Regions from separate parts of the Homo sapiens genome. Here regions 1, 2, 3 and 4 are each linked to region 5. The links are contacts of gene promoters, found by promoter capture Hi-C in blood cells and fetal thymus (Javierre and others, 2016). All regions are on one chromosome and are shown on one strand. Each heading gives the region's core, a stretch centred on a gene start or on the middle of the fragment in contact. The rest is flanking DNA. Distances are from core to core; before and after follow the strand shown. Region 1 overlaps LOC105378231 (a long non-coding RNA gene). Region 2 has its middle 24 kb from the start of SMIM3. Region 3 overlaps DCTN4 (dynactin subunit 4). Region 4 overlaps RBM22 (RNA binding motif protein 22). Region 5 holds the start of ANXA6 (annexin A6).

Region 1 (3,247 bases), core at 23-2,522, 490 kb before region 5:
TCTCCAGCTCCTGCCCCACCAACGGCCAGTTAGAACACTTTACTGGAAGCTTACCGAGCGCTACTGGCAGAGACCAGCAGGGGGAAGCCTGGCTCAAGGAATGAAAACTCCTGAGCCCCATGCTCCCAAGCCTGGAGGAGCAGCAGCATCAGCTAAAAGGTTCTCAGGACATTGAAGGAGTGAGCTTCACTTCACCACCCACACCCACGCTACCACTATGCAGGTGGGGAAACTGAGTCTCAGAAAAGAGAAGGAATTTGTCATTTGCTTATTATCTACTTTTAGTGGTGCAGCCAGAAAAGGAATCCAATAGGCAGAAGCCCAAAAACCTAGAATGTCATCATCCCTGAGCACTGACAGTTTCATACCCCCAGTTCTCAGCCATTGGACAGATGGAAAGGAGGCAGAGCCCTCTCTGCCCTAAGTCTGGTTGTTGAGCTTAGAAGAGAAGGCAGTGCGCAAAAGTCAAAAGAGACAAGTCAGGAGACCTGGTCTGGTTCCAGTCCCAAAAGTAACTGGATGACTACATGATCCCAGCTGAGCAAATTCCATCTCAATTTTCTTTTTGCAATGAAAGTAATACACATGTGATAAAAATCTACCAAACAAAAACTTCAAACTGTGCATAAGGGTGTAAAATGAAGTAAATTAACTATGAATATTTCTTGCATATCTTTCTGGAAATATACATATTAAACTATAAAAATAAAATAATACATAAGCATATACACATTTTTTTGTTGGATCAGTGGGATAACACAATATATTTGATGTGCTTTTATTTATTTGTTTGTTTTTTTTTTTTTTGAGACATGGTTTCACTCTGTCACCCAGGCTGGAGTGCAGTAGTGCAAACACGGGCTCACTGAATCCTCGACCTCCTGGGCTCAAGTGATCCTCCTGGCTCAGCCTCCTGAGTAGCTGAGACTACAGGTTGTGTGCCACCACACCCAACTAATTTTTTTTTTGTAGAGATGGGATCTCACTATGTTGCCCACTCTGGTCTTGAACTCCTAGGGGCAAGGAATCCACCCGCCTTGGCCCCACAAAATGCTGTGATTACAGGAGTGAGCTACCTTTCCCAGCCATGCTTTGTTTTTAATTTTAAATATCACTCATAGGCTGGGCACGGTAGCTCACGCATGTAATCCCAGCATGTTGGGAGGCCAAGGTGGGCGGATCACTTGAGGTCAGGAGTTGAAGACTGGCCTGGCCAATATGGTGAAACCCCTATCTCCACTAAAAATACAAAAATTAGTCTGGGCATGGTAGCTCACACCTGTAATCCTGGCACTTTGGGAGGCCAAGTGGGGGTGGATCACCTGAGTTCAGGAGTTGGAGACCAGCCTGGCCAACATGGTGAAACCCTGTCTCTACTAAAAATACAAAAAATTAGCTGAGCGTGATGGCAGGTGCCTATAATCCCAGCTACTCAGGAGGCTGAGGCAGAAGAATCGCTTGAACCAGGGAGGGGGAGGTTGCAGTGAGCTGAGACTGTGCCATTGCACTCCAGCCTGGGCAACAAGAGCAAAACTCCATCTCAAAAAAAAAAAAATACAAAAATTAGCTGGGCATGGTGGCAGCCACCTGTAATCCCAACCACTTGGGAGGCTGAGGCAGGAGAATCGCTTGAACCTGGGAGGCGGAGGTTGCAGTGAGCCAAGATCATGCCACTGCACTCCAGCCTGGGCGATAGAGCGAGACTCCATCTCAATCAATCAATCAATCAATATCACTCATAATTTTTCCATAGTAATGAGATATATTTGCCTCCTTCCTTCTGGTGGCTGCATGGTATTTTGTAATACCAATGTAGCAGTTTAATGCTGCACTTACTGCTAAGCACACCCTTTACTGTCTCTTGAGGTGTCTTGCACTGACAAAGCACACTACAGAGGACAACTTGGTACATACATCTCTGTACACATGTACAAGGGTTTCTGTGGGATGAAGTTCCAGAAGTGGAATTGCTGGGCCAAAGAATGTATGTGTGTCTAAAACATTGACAAATGTTGCCAAAATTTCCTTCAAAATGCATCACTTTTAACTTCCTCTGGCACAGGAGAAGGCCATCTCATCTTCTGGTCAGCATTGGGAAGTACTCATCTTGGGGGCCTTGGTCTTTTCATCCATGAAATAAGAGGCTTCGCTGGGCACAGTGGCTCATGTCTGTTATTCCAGAACTTTGGGAGGCCGAGGTGGGAGGATTGCTTGAGCCCAGGAGTTTGAGACCAACCTGGGCAATATACTGAGATACTGTCTGTACAAAAAATTTAAAAAAAATTAACTGAGCATGGTGGCATGCACCTGAAGTCCCAGCTACGTGGGAGGCTGAGCTGGGAGGATTGCTTGCACCTCACAGGAGGAGGCTGCAGTGAGCCAAGATTGTGCCACTGCAGTCCAGCTTGGGCAACAGAGGGAGGCCCTGTCTCAAATAAATAAATAAATAAATAAAAAGAAATAAGAGGGTTAGATTGGATGATGCTGAAGCTTCCTTGCATCTGTAACTTTACATCTGCAACTCTTTCCACTAAGTTGTCCAGCTTGAGGAGTAGAATGGGGCCATGAACTTAAGCAGTTCATTTCTTCTCTTCTCCCCTTCCTTCCCTTCCACGTTCTTCTTTCTCCCTGTCTAGTCCTAGGAGAGTGGAAAAGGCATGAGGCCACCCTCCTCAGGCCAGGAAACCTAGTTCCAGAGGCGGCCCTGGATCCAAACCAGTGTGGGAACCTACCTAAGTCCTTCCCTCCCACCCTATCTGTTTTCCCACCTGGTTTAGCAACTGCCTTCCCTCCTAGGGCTCCAACTTCATAAGATGTTGAGATAACATCTTATGAAGTCTTTTGCCAAAAACATGCCTTTTTCTGCCCCTGGAAGGAATTAGTTTCACTTGTTCTGAAGAAGAGTCTCTGCAGGTACTTGTTACTCCTGCCAAGAGACCTGAGAGGCCCCAAATTCCTCAGCACCCGGATCCCAGATTCGCTTAATCTGACGCTGCTCGCTTCCAAGGGGCGCTGAGATGATGGAGTTACAAGCTGCTTAAAGGCTTACAGAGTGTCAGCTTGAAGGGAGGAGAGAGTGAGTGAGCGTCTGCCTCCACTTGGCTTGGCCTCTCGGATGAAAGAGCTTGGGAGAAGGGAGTGTTTACAGAGATCAATAAAGACACCCTGGAGGGGCCAGCACTCCCATTGGGCTTCTCCAAGAAGATTTAGGATTGACATCATTAAAGCCCCTAGGGAAGACTCTTCC
Region 2 (3,271 bases), core at 122-2,621, 350 kb after region 5:
TCCATGGTTACATTGCCTCTTTCTCATCTCTGTGTGTCAGTCCTTCGTGTGTCTTTTATAAGGACTCTTGTCACTGGGTTAGAACCCACTCAGATAATCCAGGATCACCTCCCCATCTGGAGATCCTTAACTTAATGACATCTACAAAGACCCCCTTTTTTTTTCAAAGTAACATTCACAGGTTCTGCGATTTAGGAAGTGGACATAATTTTGGGGGGGCCACTATTCAATCCATTACTCCGAGACAGTATAGTTCTCCGTTTAGAAAGTGATAAGCTCCTTGCAACAAAATGGAAAGATGTGGTTCACTTAGCTTAACTTCCCATAAATTCAAAATAATTTAGTACTAAGTGTGGAAAAGAAAAACTAAAGAGCAATCAATTCCCCTTATGCCCAGAGATTCCATAAATCATTCTTTGACCAAGTGCCACTCAATTCCTAGAACACAAAATATCTTCATTTTTAGAGTAGGTATCAATTCTTTATTATACATGACCCAAACAATTGCTATGTAGAATGAGACAACAGCATTCATACTGAACTTTTCCTAACAACAACAACAACAACAACAAGTAACTATGTTTTCTGAGGTGCAAATCTTGATTGAAGGTAAATAGAAGCATAAAGGGCTCCAATAGTAGAAATTCTAAAGGCACTCATAACTATTTTAAAATTCAGAGGCCAGGCATGGTGGTTCGCATCTGTAATCCCAGCACTTTGGGAGGCCAAGATGGGAGGATTGCTTGAGACCAGGAGTTCAAGACCAGCCTGGTCAACACAGTGAGACCCCATCTCTATAAAAAGAACATATATATATATAAAATAAAGAATGTACTTATATCATTATTATGAAATTTGTTGTTGAAATGAAAAATTACTAAAACTGTTTTCATGACATATCTATGATTTTTCTCTCCATTGCCCTGTGTCTTCATTGACACTGAATTTCAATCACTGCTAAACTCTTATTGTACAGTAATATTATCATCTGTTTTTTTCATTAATATGCTAAGACACAATCTGAGAAGAAAGACTGCTCACTAAAGTAAAACAACTTTAAGAAAAAATATAAATACAAGGGTAATTAAGTTATTTGAATTAGAATTCTATGCTATTTCCTAATTTTTCCTCAGACTTATAACTGTCTCTTACCCTCCCCAACTCCAATCCTCTTTGTCCTTTCCACTTTCCTTTTATTGCCTTCCGAATTTTTCCCCAAGACGTTTGGTTGAAACCCATATAGCGAAACCAATCAAGCCAATGTGCCCCACCCATATATAATTTTTTACGGTAGTGCTAATGATCTTCCTTTGTTTTTAGGTAACATTTAAGCACTGAGTACTTATTACAGGCTCTCTGTAAGTGTTCTAGATTCAGCACCTTGTTTAAACCCCTCAGCGGCACTGTGGAGGCAAATATGATCCCCTTTTTTACAAACAAGGGCAATGAAACTCTTAAATGTTACTTTCTAAAGGGAACACGCTGGTGGAGCCAGATGGGAATTTGGTCTGCTTGACTCTAAAATTAAATGATTCTCTCTATAACTATTGCTGTCCAGCTTTAAAAGTAGATACAATAATTTTTGTAATTTTTAAAAATGATGTTATAGACCTGCTAAAACAGAAACATTTTTCCTACCATGTAAATCTTTATGGGAATTGAAGAGCCTTTCATTTGCTTTAATTAAATACCTTGTGTGATTGGAACAATTTCAAAGTTGCATTAATGCAACTTGGCCTTAAAAATTTCAAAGGAAATATTATCATTGTCATTTCATTTCACAGTCTCAGTTCCATTCTCTCTCTTTAGCAAGAATTATATAAGGGCCTAATTAAAGTTTTAGCTTACTGAAAGATTTTTAATGTTTTTTGCACCCTTAAAACTTTAGAAAGCAATTTCTGTGAGGAATTAATACTTAAAAATTGAATACTTTGTGTTTTATTAAATAATTGTGGATTCATTAAGAAACATTTTCTAAAAGGAACTTAGTATAGAAGAGATACAAGTTTTATACTTGTTCTAAGGCTGATCCTACAGGATAACAGTAAGGAAATTGCTAATCTCATTACTTCAGTGATTTTTAAAATCCCACATCATTAGGGGCATAGACCATTGGTGTTTTTACATTATTGGCCATCTTATAATTACTACTATTGAGAGCCTCTTCTAAGTCAGACATTAACCAACTACCTTACTTATATTACCTCATTTAATTCTCCCCATGCTCTAGTAGTTATCATCACCATTTTACAGATGTAGAAACTGAAGCTCATTATTGTTAATAATAGATCACATTTTGCTATATTTTACCTTTTCACTTTGCATTCATCACCCCATGTAATAATCATAACAATCCTTTGAAGTAGGTATAATTATTTTCACTCGTATTTTACAGAAGAGGAAATTGAGGCTCAAAGAGTTTATGTTATTTGCTCACGATCACAAAGCTAAGAAATAGTGAAGGTCCTCGCTCTTAGTCTCTGGTTATAGTGTTCCTGGAAAGGGAAGGAGGATGACAGCCAACCTGTAATGCAAAGTATGACTTCTTCCCCACCCCCAGAGAAGATAGGGGCGGAGGTGAGGTAAGTCATGATTAGCGACCTTCAAAATGTTCAGACATTTCCCAAGAAAAAGGAAGTTGATCTCTTCAGTGTGGCCTCAAGAGGGCAGAACTAGCATCCCTGAATCCTTAATCCCACTCTCACCGAGGGAGGAATTCTAACAAAACAGCTAATAAGGGGTGGCTTCAGCAAGACGTGAACCTCCTTTTCACTGGCACGTGGCTCTCAGACTTTAACCTGTTTGTTGAGCACTTACGGATTGTTTTTGCAAAGCAGATACTGAAGAACCAGTTCCAGAGATTCTCGGTCAGTACGTCTGAAGCAGGGCCCTGGAAGCTGCATTTGTAAGCAAATGCTCCTGTGTGAATCTGACACAAGCAGTCCAGGATCACACAGGAGAAATACTGAAAAGGCAACAACTGGCAACCTGTATTATACGGGATGTTGGACTGCATGAGCCCTGTGTTATCGCTACAGTCTCTGAAGCCAGAACTGGGAACATAAAATCTTGATCTGCTAGGAATGTTGTAGGACTGACTCTCACAACTTCGGCAGGCTAACCACTCCATTTGAAAAAAAAGTTATATCGCCATCTGGTGGACTGCCTAAAAGTTATTCAAACTCACCCTAAAAGCACGGAATGATTTTCTCATTTAATTCGGATACACTGCACACTTCACAGACCAGGAATCAAGACTCAGAAGAGTTCA
Region 3 (3,490 bases), core at 202-2,701, 430 kb after region 5:
TCTCCAAGATGAAAAACACTGACTTTTTACATAGTGCACTTGTGTGGTTAAATAGTAATATATGCAAGTAGAATTTTTGATAAGAATTATTTATGAGAGTCATTCTCTACCAGTTTACGTACTGCTAGTAAGAAGAAAGAAATTAGGATTTGGAATTTTTGTTATTTTACCCCGAGTTTTATTTGCTCTCATAGTACAGTTTGTTTTCTGTGTGCTTGCTTGGGGCCCAGCAAATTGACATTCAATAAATAACATTTATTGAATGGCAATGATGTGTCAAGCTCTGTGCTAAATAAACACTTTACATGTATTACTTTACTTAATCCTCACAAAAATCCTGTGGAGTATCATATCCCCATTTTACGCTTGAGGAAATGGGACCTAGTTAAGCAACTTGTCATACTGCATCCACATGAAAATTAGTTAAGTCATTGAAACCCTAAGGGTTGGTAAAGTCCATATAAAAATACCTAGATTAAGCTGGGTGCAGTGGCTCACGCCTGTAATCCCAGCACTTTGGGAGGCTGAGGCGGGGGGATCACTTGAGGTCAGGATTTCAAGACCAGTCTGGCCAACATGGCGAAACCCTGTCTCTACTAAAAATACAAAAAATTAGCTGGGCATGGTGGCGCACGCCTATAATCTCAGCTACTTGGGAGGCTGAGGCATGAGAATCGCTTGAACCCAGGAGGCGGAGGTTGCAGTGAGCCAAGATAGCGCCACTGCACTCCAGCCTGGGTGACGGAGTGAGACTCTGTCTCAAAAAAAATCTAGATTAGAATTTAAAAACATTAACACTTGCAAAGCACCTACATTTGCAAAAAGAAGTGAATTTTTCTGAATAGTCCAGTGGTATAGTCAGCATATGCACCAATGTGTGTTATATTTAGAGGTAGAATTTGAATTAAATGAATTATTCTTCCAATTTTCCCATATAACCTGCCTGCTATATGCGTTTGCTTCTATCTTATGCTGCATTTTTTGTCTCTGTTGCAACCTGCTGCTATTTTGGGGCTCTACAGCAACATACTATTCATGTAGTGGTAAGTTCTCCTTTATGATTCTTGCTGACCCTGAAGAAGTTAGCAGATGACCACTGGTGTTCCAGGAAGACGTCTGTTGTGTATCTTAGACACTCCACATAGTTCTTGCCTGAGCCGTAGCTTAGATACTTTTAGATTACTAGCAGAAGCTCACATTTGGTTCATTTTTACTGTATTAATATAGTTTCAATCTCCATGTTTAGTGCTGTTATTATTTTAAGAATAGAATAATGATGTGGGGCTACAAATTGCTTTCTTTAAAAGAAGCCTTTAGATTAGCTTTTTTTTTGCTTATTTCCCTGAGCTTCTCATGCTATCCTACCCAAAATTCTTTCTTTTGATAAATAGGGTGTGTAAAAGTGGACTTTCTAATAGGAATTTCTGAACTTTGTTTAGGACAAATATGGTCTTGGAACCAGGCTTCAGCGACCACGAGCTGGTGCATCCATCAGTACCCTTGCCGGACTTTCGTAAGTTTAGACATGAAATGACTTTGAGGAGAACAGCAGGTATCAAAATGAATATCAAATAAATGAGATTAAAACACACACACACACACAGTTGTCAATGGAAAAGAAGATTCTCATACTTAGAAAAGACCTACGCTATACAGATATTCTATGACAGAGGAATACTTCAATTATTGATATCATAGACTGAGGATAATCAGGTGGATCCGTGAGAAATTACTCTTTTGTTTTGTTTTGTTTTGTTTTTTTAATTTTTCAGCCTTAAAGAAGGAGAGGATCAGAAAGAGATAAAGATTGAGCCAGCTCAGGCTGTGGATGAAGTGGAACCTCTACCTGAAGACTATTATACAAGACCAGTAAATTTAACAGAGGGTAATTTTCTGTGTTTTTCTACTTTGTTTCTAGTCTACATCTAATTCTGTTTTTGTTATTTATGTACCTAGTGATTTGAGATTTTTAATGGAATAGCTGTTAGTAGTAAAAACAATATGTAGAAAATAAAACAGCTGTAATAGAGGTAATTGTTTGAAATCTAAAATGTCAACTTTCTATATTTTCATTTTTATGAACAACACTGTTCGTAAAGGCAGTAATGCTTCGTGTAATTACTGGTACATAAAAGTCTGATTTTGAAAGTCACTGTAAACTAAGCCTGTTTTCTGCCTTTCTTTCTAGTAACAACCCTTCAGCAGCGTCTGTTACAGCCTGACTTCCAGCCAGTCTGTGCTTCACAGCTCTATCCTCGCCACAAACATCTTCTGATCAAACGGTCCCTGCGCTGCCGTGTAAGTATTCCATTCTGTAGACTGACCATTTGTACAAGAGGAAAGCAAAAATAAATGTGGCTGGTGTCTGACTAATGTCAAAACCTTTGGAATGTATTAAATACAGAAAATACTTGTAGAGAACATACTAATTGCCAGGCACTATTTTAAATGCTTTCAATATAAACAGCTCTTACAACTCTGTGAGGTAGGTACTACTGTTAAACCTGTTTTACAAATGTAGAAAATGAAGTATCTGAAGGTTAAGTACATAGGGTTAACCCCTAAAAGAATAGTGAAAGAGTGTGAACTTTTAGGCTAGTGTTCAGGCTCAGGGAGGACCAATAAAAAATAATCAATTTAAAAGAAAGCAAGAAAAATCAGCAAAATCCAGGCTCTGGTAATCTACAGAACAAATGACAGAGTTTCTTCAATAAATAAATTGTAAAAACAAAATGGAAAAGAAACCTTTTAGAGGAGTACTATCCAACAGAACTTTCTATGGTGATGGAAGTATTCTGTGTCTGTACAGTCCCGCATGATAGCCACTAGGCACATGTGGCTCTTGAGCACATGAAATGTGATAGTGCAGCTGAGGTACTGAGTCAGTCTTTAATTTCATTTAAATAACCACATGTCGCTAGTGGCTAATGTTACTTAATCATTCTCTAGATTAGAAGAGACTTAAAAGTTTACCAAACACAATGTATAGAGTTTACGTAGATTCGGATTCAAACAAAACAGAAAGAAAGGGCCCAGGGGAGGAGGGAAGAAGGGAAAGAGGAAAGAAGGAAAGAAAAATTTGTGAAATCTTTGAGAAAATTTAAACACTGGTAGCATTTTCGATGCTATTAAAAAACTATTGGGCAGGGCACAGTGACATGCACTTGTAGTCCCAGCTACTCTGGAAGCTGAGGCAGGAGAATCCCTTGAGCCTGAGGAGTTTGAGACTGTAGTGTGTGATGATGGTGCCTGTGAATAGCCACTGCACTCCAGCCTAGGCAACACAGAAAGACCCTGTCTCTTAAAAAAAAAAAAAAAGTATTTTTTCTTTTTTAGGAATAATGATAGTACTTTGTTTGTTTGTTTTTTAATGTCTTTATCTTTTGGAGATACATACAGAAATATTTATGGAGGAAATGACTTGGTCTCTGATATTTGTTGCAAAATAATGAGGGATGAGGAATGGGTAAGAGTATAAATGAAACAAGAT
Region 4 (3,424 bases), core at 324-2,823, 460 kb after region 5:
CTTTGACCCTTTGGCTATTTCATTTCTGTACTCTGAATTTTTGCTGGAGAAGGATGCTGAAAATTGTATTGAAACATCAAATCAACTAGATGATTGCTAAGGTCTCTTCTAAATCCTACATTCAGGGATCCTTTTTTGAATGCCCCGTTGTTATCAGATCTCCAGATTGCCCAGATCAGGACCATTGACATTCTATGGCTCTTGCTTTGTGTTCCAGATCTGTGCCAGGCCATTCACAGTGTTTCGCTGGTGCCCTGGAGTCCGCATGCGTTTCAAGAAGACTGAAGTGTGCCAAACCTGCAGTAAATTGAAGAATGTCTGTCAGACCTGCCTCTTAGACCTAGAGTATGGTATGTTTGACCTGTCCAATAAATCTGAAAGTGTGCAGGTGCCTAAAACTACAAGTCAGTCTTTTGTCTCCCACTTCGCACCCTAGCTCTGGTTCTGATTTCACTTTGGAATGTCTGCCGTGGTCTGCTTTTCCCAGGAAAAGAACCATAATTAGGCCACTCTAGAGTCCTGAACAATAGTAGGAACTTAAGGAAAAGTTGGGAATTAATCAAAAGTGGCCTAAACCTTCATCTCTGTAGCCCAAGTGAGGTAAAAGGCGTTGATCCTATGATAGATAATTTATTTGCCTTAGGCTTCTTTCTTGATCCAGAGCTTTTTTCCACCATCCCAATCAGAAGCTCACAGGGTAATTGTGCTTTATTTTATTTTATTTTTTGAGTTAGGGTCTCACTCTGACACCCAGGCTAGAGTACAGTGGTGTGATCACAGCTCACTGCAACTTCGAACTCCTGGGCTCAAGGGATCCTCTTGCCTCTGCCTCCTGGTATACCACCACACCCAGTGCACGTGTGTGTGTGTGTCACTATTTTGCCCAGGCTGGTTTTGAGCTTCTGGCCTCAAGCAGTCCTCCCACCTTGGCCTCCCAGAGCCACTATAGCCAGCCTAATTGTGCTTTAGACTTTTATTTCAATTGTGTTGTTAGAACTGATATATTGCTACTGTTTCAGAGTAACTGCTTTTGGGAGTAATTTTTTTTTTAACCATAGGTGACTGTTTTTCAGAAAGATAATTTTTCAACAAGAGTTTTTACTATTAAAGGAAAGGGAAAAATATATGAGTTTATGTATGTTAAGTTCATTAGAGTTACTCTTCTAGTCAGAGTCCTGGCCACATTTTATGTAATATTATTTATATGTTTGTTAAGGAGGCGTCTGGTCCTGGAGTACAGTGACCCTTAGATGACTGTGACTATCCAGAGGATCTGTAAGACTAACCTAGAAAGAAACCACTTTTACATTTACTTTAAATAAATCATGTTGTAATAAAAACTAGGAGCTAATTTACAGGTTGAATATGACCATGGGCACAGTTTGTTCATCTAAAAATTTTCTTTTATAATTTTTTTGTTTTTTGTTTTTGAGACAGGGTGTCACTCTGTTGCCCAGGCTGGAGTGCAGTGGCATGGTCATGGCTCACTGCAGCCTTAACCTTTCCAAGCTCAGGTGATCCACCTCAGCCTCCTGGGTAGCTAGGACTACAGGTGCATACCACCACACCCAGCTAATTTTTGTATTTTTTGTAGAAATGGGGTTTCACCACGTTGACCAGGCTGGTCTCGAACTCCTGGACTCAAGCTATCTGTCAGCTCCAGCCTTGCAAAGTGCTAGGATTACAGGCATGAGCCACCACACCCAGCCTAAAAGATTTTTTCTAAAGCATTAATTTCATCAAATTTCCTGACAGTTCAGGAATTTGGACAATTTCTTAGCATGCTGTGTAGCAGAAGTAACCTGATGGTGCTAAAGAGTTTGAATAAAAACATAGTAAAGTCTCTGGTACTAAATAGGAAAGAGGAGAAGGGAAAGATGATGTATTCTGTGTGCATGGTTAGTATGGATATGTTTTAAAATACATCTGAGGTCTTTTTCCTCTTTTTTTGTACCAGGCCTGCCCATCCAGGTTCGTGACGCAGGATTGTCTTTTAAAGATGACATGCCAAAGTCAGATGTCAACAAAGAGTACTATACACAGAATATGGAGAGAGAGGTATGCTGCCACTTTTTGGATAAAAATCCTAATGAATTGACACAGTCTGTATAATTTATCTTTTGAATTTGTCATCCCCACTTAGATTTCTAACTCTGATGGAACACGGCCAGTTGGCATGCTGGGGAAAGCCACATCTACCAGTGACATGCTGCTCAAACTGGCCCGGACCACACCCTACTACAAAAGGAATCGACCCCACATTTGCTCCTTCTGGGTGAAAGGAGAGTGTAAGAGAGGAGAGGAATGTCCATACAGGCAAGAGCGAGCCTCATTTTCAGTATTTGCTTTCAGATGATTTCTCATCTAAGAAGTGGGAGGTCCTAACTTAAACTGTTTCTGCTTTAAAATCTAAAGGTCATACAACTAATGTGGTATACCTCATGTCTTAGAACTATGAAATTTAGAAGAGCATGAATAAATTGTAGTTTTTACTTACAATTGAGCCTTGGAAACTAAATTGCTATGCCATACAATATAGATGCTGACCCTAAACATTTCTGCCTGAGAAGTAAATCTTCACTGCCATGGTTTAAATGAGTTGACTCTCAATGTATAGTTGAAGTCAAAGTAAGGTCAGACTTCTAAAGGGTGTGTATGTTTTGGTTAAGACTGCCAAGCATCTGGATTAGGAGTTCTTAATTTGGGATTGGTTAACCCCACCCCCTAAAAAATAATGTATGTGCTTTCTCTGGGGCGAGGTTCATAGCTTTAATCAGATTCTCAGTGGAATACAGCACCCCAAATGTGTTAAGAATCATTGACCTAGAGAGGGGTAATCATGTGTCCCTTTCTGGGGGGCGGGAGGGGGTGGATCATGTCAAGAGTATTTATTTATAAGGAAAGTTTGGCATCCTAGATGGCCTAATGGCTTTTAGGAGGCTAGTAATTCCTTCCGTGATACAGTAAATCTCTTGGTATTAGGTCTATTTTGGTAATTATATTTTGGTAGAAACCATAGTTTCTAGTTCAAAAGGCACTTCAGAATATGTATCTAGGACTTTAATATGTAGCTACTCTTGGAAGATAATCATTTTTTCACCTTCGTTTCACCTTTATGCCTTGTTTTTTTCTTGAATCATAGACATGAGAAGCCTACAGATCCAGATGACCCCCTTGCTGATCAGAATATTAAAGACCGTTATTACGGAATCAATGATCCTGTAGCTGACAAGCTTCTAAAGCGGGCTTCAACAATGCCTCGGCTGGACCCACCAGAGGATAAAACTATCACCACACTATATGTTGGTGGTCTAGGTGATACCATTACTGAGACAGATTTAAGGTTTGTGGGTATAAGTTAGAGAGTTATTTTTGCCTTTAACTGCCCTGGAATAATTTATTTGCAAAAACTGCAAGAATGATC
Region 5 (3,387 bases), core at 888-3,387:
ATAAAATGTTGCAGCCACTCTGAAAAAATGTTTGGCAGTTCCTCAAAAACTTAAATGTAGAATTACTATATGACCCAGCAGTTTCATTCCTAGGTAAATACACAACGACAATTGAAAACAGGTACTCAAATAAGTATTTGTATGCAAATGTTCATTAGCAGCACTATTCACAATCAGCAAAAGGGGGAAACAATGCACTATCCATCAACAGATGGATGGATAAACAAATTATAGTGTACTTATACAACGGAAAATTATTCAGCCATTAAAAGGAATGGAGTGCTGGACCGGACACGGTGGCGCATGCCTGTAATCCCAGCACTTTGGGAGGCAAAGGCGGGTGGATCACCTGAGGTCAGGAGTTCGAGACCAGCCTAACTAACATGGTAAAACCCCATCTCTACTAAATACAAAAATAAATTAGCCACACGTGGTGGTGCATGCCTGTAATCCCAGCTGCTCGGAAGGCTGAGGCAGGAGAATTCCTTGAATCTGAGAGGTGGAGGTTGCAGTGAGCCGAGATCACGCCATTGCACTCCAGCCTTGGCAACAAGAGCAAAACTCCAACTGAAACTAAAAAAAAAAAGGAATGGAGTGCTGATACATGCTACAGTGTGGATGAACTTCAAAAACATGCCACATGAGGCCAGGCACGGTGGCTCACGCCTGTAATCCCAGCACTTTGGGAGGCCGAGGCAGGTGGATCACCTGAGGTCGGGAGTTCAAGACCAACCTGACCAACATGGAAAAACCCCGTCTCTACTAAAAATACAGAATTAGCTGGGTGTGGTGGCGCATGCCTGTAATCCCAACTACTCGGGAGGCTGAGGCAGGAGAATTGCTTGAACCCAGGAGGCAGAAGTTGTGGTGAGCAGAGATCACGCCACTGCACTCCAGCCTGGGCGACAAGAGTGAAAAAACAACAACAAAAACAAACAAACAAAATGCCACATGAAAGAAGTCAGACAAGAAGGGTTGCATCTCATGTGATTCCATGTATATGAAATATCCAGAATAGGCACATCCGCAGAAGCAGAAAGCAAATTGGTGGTTGCCAGAGACGAGGGGTAAGGGAAAGTTAGGAGTGACTGCTCAGTGGGTATACTGTTTTATTTTTCCGTGAAGAGAATATTTTGGAACTAGATAGAGGTGGTGGATACACAACATTGTGTCTGTACAAAATGCCACTGAATTGTTGACTTTAAAATGGTTAATTTTATGTTGTGTGGATTTCATCTACCCAAAAATAATACCCTTTCTTTGCTCAATATCCTGCAATGGATCCCCAGTTGACTCAGAGTAAAAGACAGCGTGCCTTCAAGGGCCCCGGAGGTCCCACCTGATTGGGTCCCTCTTATCTCTCCTCTCCCTCCCACTCACTCCATTCCAGCCACACTGGCCCCCCTGCTGATCCTCGGAGGCGCCAGGTGGCCTCCTGCTAGGAGCATTTGCTCCAGCAGTTTCCTCTGCCTGGAACACTTTCCGCAGGTATCTGTCCAATTCTTCTAACTTCCTCATCTTCTCCTTACCAATCCCCTGGGGACAATAATTCTCAGTTTCCTCTGTATTCTCAGTTTATCAATTTTTCCTGTTCTAGCGCTGGATTACAACTGCTGGTCTCCCTGCCTGCCTTCCCTGCTTCCCAGAGCACGAAGAAGCTTGCCTCCGCAACCCACTATTTGTGTGACCTTGGTCCAGGAACTGGACTGGGCTCTCCTCCTGAAAGTGGGTAAATAATGTCACCGACCTAATGAGGCTGTTGAGGCATGGAATCTGATCAGGCAGATAAAGTGCCCCTGGCAAACCTCAATTTTCTGTTTCTCAACAAAGCTTTGGCGACTTATAAGAATTTGCGGGAAAGTGTCCAGAACCCGGAGTCAGGAGCCCTGACTTCTAGCCCTGAAGGGCCGCGTGACCTTGGCCAAAGCCCCTAATCCTTCTCAGTCTCAGATCCGGGGGCTGGAAACTGAGGAGGTTCTCCCGGCAAGCCCCTCGGGCTAGTGACATTCTAAGATTCCAAGAGCTAAGGAGCTAGAGGGGTGGGGTGGAGGAGGGAGGCGGGCGCGCCGGATTGGCCTCTGCGCGCCACGTGTCCGGCTCGGAGCCCACGGCTGTCCTCCCGGTCCGCCCCGCGCTGCGGTTGCTGCTGGGCTAACGGGCTCCGATCCAGCGAGCGCTGCGTCCTCGAGTCCCTGCGCCCGTGCGTCCGTCTGCGACCCGAGGCCTCCGCTGCGCGGTGAGTGGGCTGAGGCTGGAGAGGGGAGTCGCTCTGGGAACCCCTTCCCGGGGGCTGCAGGGACACAAGAAATAAGCGCCCAGTCATCGGCTGATGGGTACCCCCCGCCAGGAGCAGGGACGGGAGGGCGCGGTAACCCGAGAGTGTCGCAGACTGGGTGTGTCTGGGGAGCGCAGCGGAGCAAATCTGGGGTCGGGGCGGAGAGGCGCGGGCGGAGGGCGCCCTGGCTAGGGGGAGGGGAGGGAGTCCCGTTGCTGCAGAGGGTCTGGTTGAGGGTCCTGGGCGCCGGAGCTGAGCCAGGGGCTGGTCCTGCCGGCCTTAATTTGGGGGGGCTCAAGAGACTTTGAAGGTCCGGGGTTGGGGTCAGCTGGACGCCAGTCAAAGGACCCGCAGAGAAGGGTGTGGCTGAGGCCCAAGACTGAGAGCAAGAGCGTTGGACCCTCCAGCTGCTTATAAAATGGCTTGTGTGTGGTGTCGGGGGAGGGCTGCCTGCGTGCAGAGAGCTGAACGTCCGGTCGTACATACCTCAGGGCCTCATTGGACCCCATCCCCTTTGGGCCACTGCTTGTCTATGAATGCAGTCTCCCAACGGGGCTCCGAGGCCTCCTATGGTGAGGCAGGGGCACTACCCTTCTTTCTGCATCCCCTAAGCGGTCTAGGCCTTCCCAAAGTTTGGGGGCTTCAAATAATTCCCCATATACCAGCATGGGAGCAAAATACCCTGAATCGGAATCCCAGCCCCTGTTGCAGTGTGACTTTGGGCGGTGGCTTTCCCTCTCTGAGCCTGGATTTCCTTCTCCAAGTCCATAGTTGAGAAACCCAGTCTCTTTCAAAGGAAACAATGGCTTTGAAAACTGATTTATTTGTCAGCTGTATGGAATGATTGCAGGTTTGGGAGTCTTGATTATAGATTTGGGAAGCCTGGCACAACCCTTGTAGGCCCTACAAGGGGAAAGGGCAGGAGGTCCTTTGGGACAACTAATCTGGCCACGGCTTCCTGCCTCCTCCTTCCTTTCCCTAGATTCTAGTGGGTCTTCTCTGACAATTCCAAATTTGGACATATGGCTCCCGGGTTTGTGAAAGGACTCTGGTTTCCCCCCAAGAGTCCGCCCTTTTCCCTCCATTATTCCTTCCCCCTTGCCCAAAACATG

What was found. The method cuts DNA at HindIII sites, captures the fragments that hold promoters and counts their contacts. A CHiCAGO score of 5 or more calls a contact.
Region 1: a fragment that was not itself captured here is called in contact with the fragment with the promoter of ANXA6 in region 5 in 2 of 17 cell types (erythroblasts and endothelial precursors); the score reaches 6.0 in erythroblasts.
Region 2: a fragment that was not itself captured here is called in contact with the fragment with the promoter of ANXA6 in region 5 in 1 of 17 cell types (fetal thymus); the score reaches 5.3 in fetal thymus.
Region 3: a contact is called between a fragment that was not itself captured here and the fragment with the promoter of ANXA6 in region 5, in 2 of 17 cell types (total CD4 T cells and neutrophils). The highest score is 5.2, in total CD4 T cells.
Region 4: a contact is called between a fragment that was not itself captured here and the fragment with the promoter of ANXA6 in region 5, in 4 of 17 cell types (fetal thymus, naive CD8 T cells, total CD8 T cells and 1 more). The highest score is 7.0, in fetal thymus.

What each region holds. Positions count from the first base shown.
Region 1 is chr5:151,649,044-151,652,290 of GRCh38, reverse strand. All of the region lies in intron 1 of LOC105378231 (a long non-coding RNA gene), which reads right to left. It overlaps LOC124901116 (a long non-coding RNA gene), which reads left to right. Exons shown (of 2, transcript XR_007059007.1): 2 at 1-724. Among named protein-coding and RNA genes, the nearest start is that of CLMAT3, 26 kb to the left of the region's middle. The HindIII fragment of the contact is 2,441 bases long and covers 52-2,492 here.
Region 2 is chr5:150,801,121-150,804,391 of GRCh38, reverse strand. No RefSeq gene overlaps it. Among named protein-coding and RNA genes, the nearest start is that of SMIM3, 24 kb to the right of the region's middle. The HindIII fragment of the contact is 4,840 bases long and covers 1-3,271 here.
Region 3 is chr5:150,729,439-150,732,928 of GRCh38, reverse strand. It overlaps DCTN4 (dynactin subunit 4), which reads left to right. Exons shown (of 13, transcript NM_016221.4): 6 at 1,440-1,513; 7 at 1,773-1,885; 8 at 2,189-2,298. Among named protein-coding and RNA genes, the nearest start is that of DCTN4, 28 kb to the left of the region's middle. The HindIII fragment of the contact is 7,333 bases long and covers 1-3,490 here.
Region 4 is chr5:150,695,425-150,698,848 of GRCh38, reverse strand. RBM22 (RNA binding motif protein 22) reads left to right here. Exons shown (of 11, transcript NM_018047.3): 4 at 218-350; 5 at 1,958-2,058; 6 at 2,144-2,316; 7 at 3,143-3,343. Among named protein-coding and RNA genes, the nearest start is that of RBM22, 3.9 kb to the left of the region's middle. The HindIII fragment of the contact is 3,324 bases long and covers 1-3,235 here.
Region 5 is chr5:151,156,529-151,159,915 of GRCh38, reverse strand. ANXA6 (annexin A6) reads left to right here and starts at 2,137. Exons shown (of 26, transcript NM_001155.5): 1 at 2,137-2,236. RefSeq lists a silencer at 1,265-1,324 and an enhancer at 1,120-1,976. The HindIII fragment of the contact is 7,741 bases long and covers 1,833-3,387 here.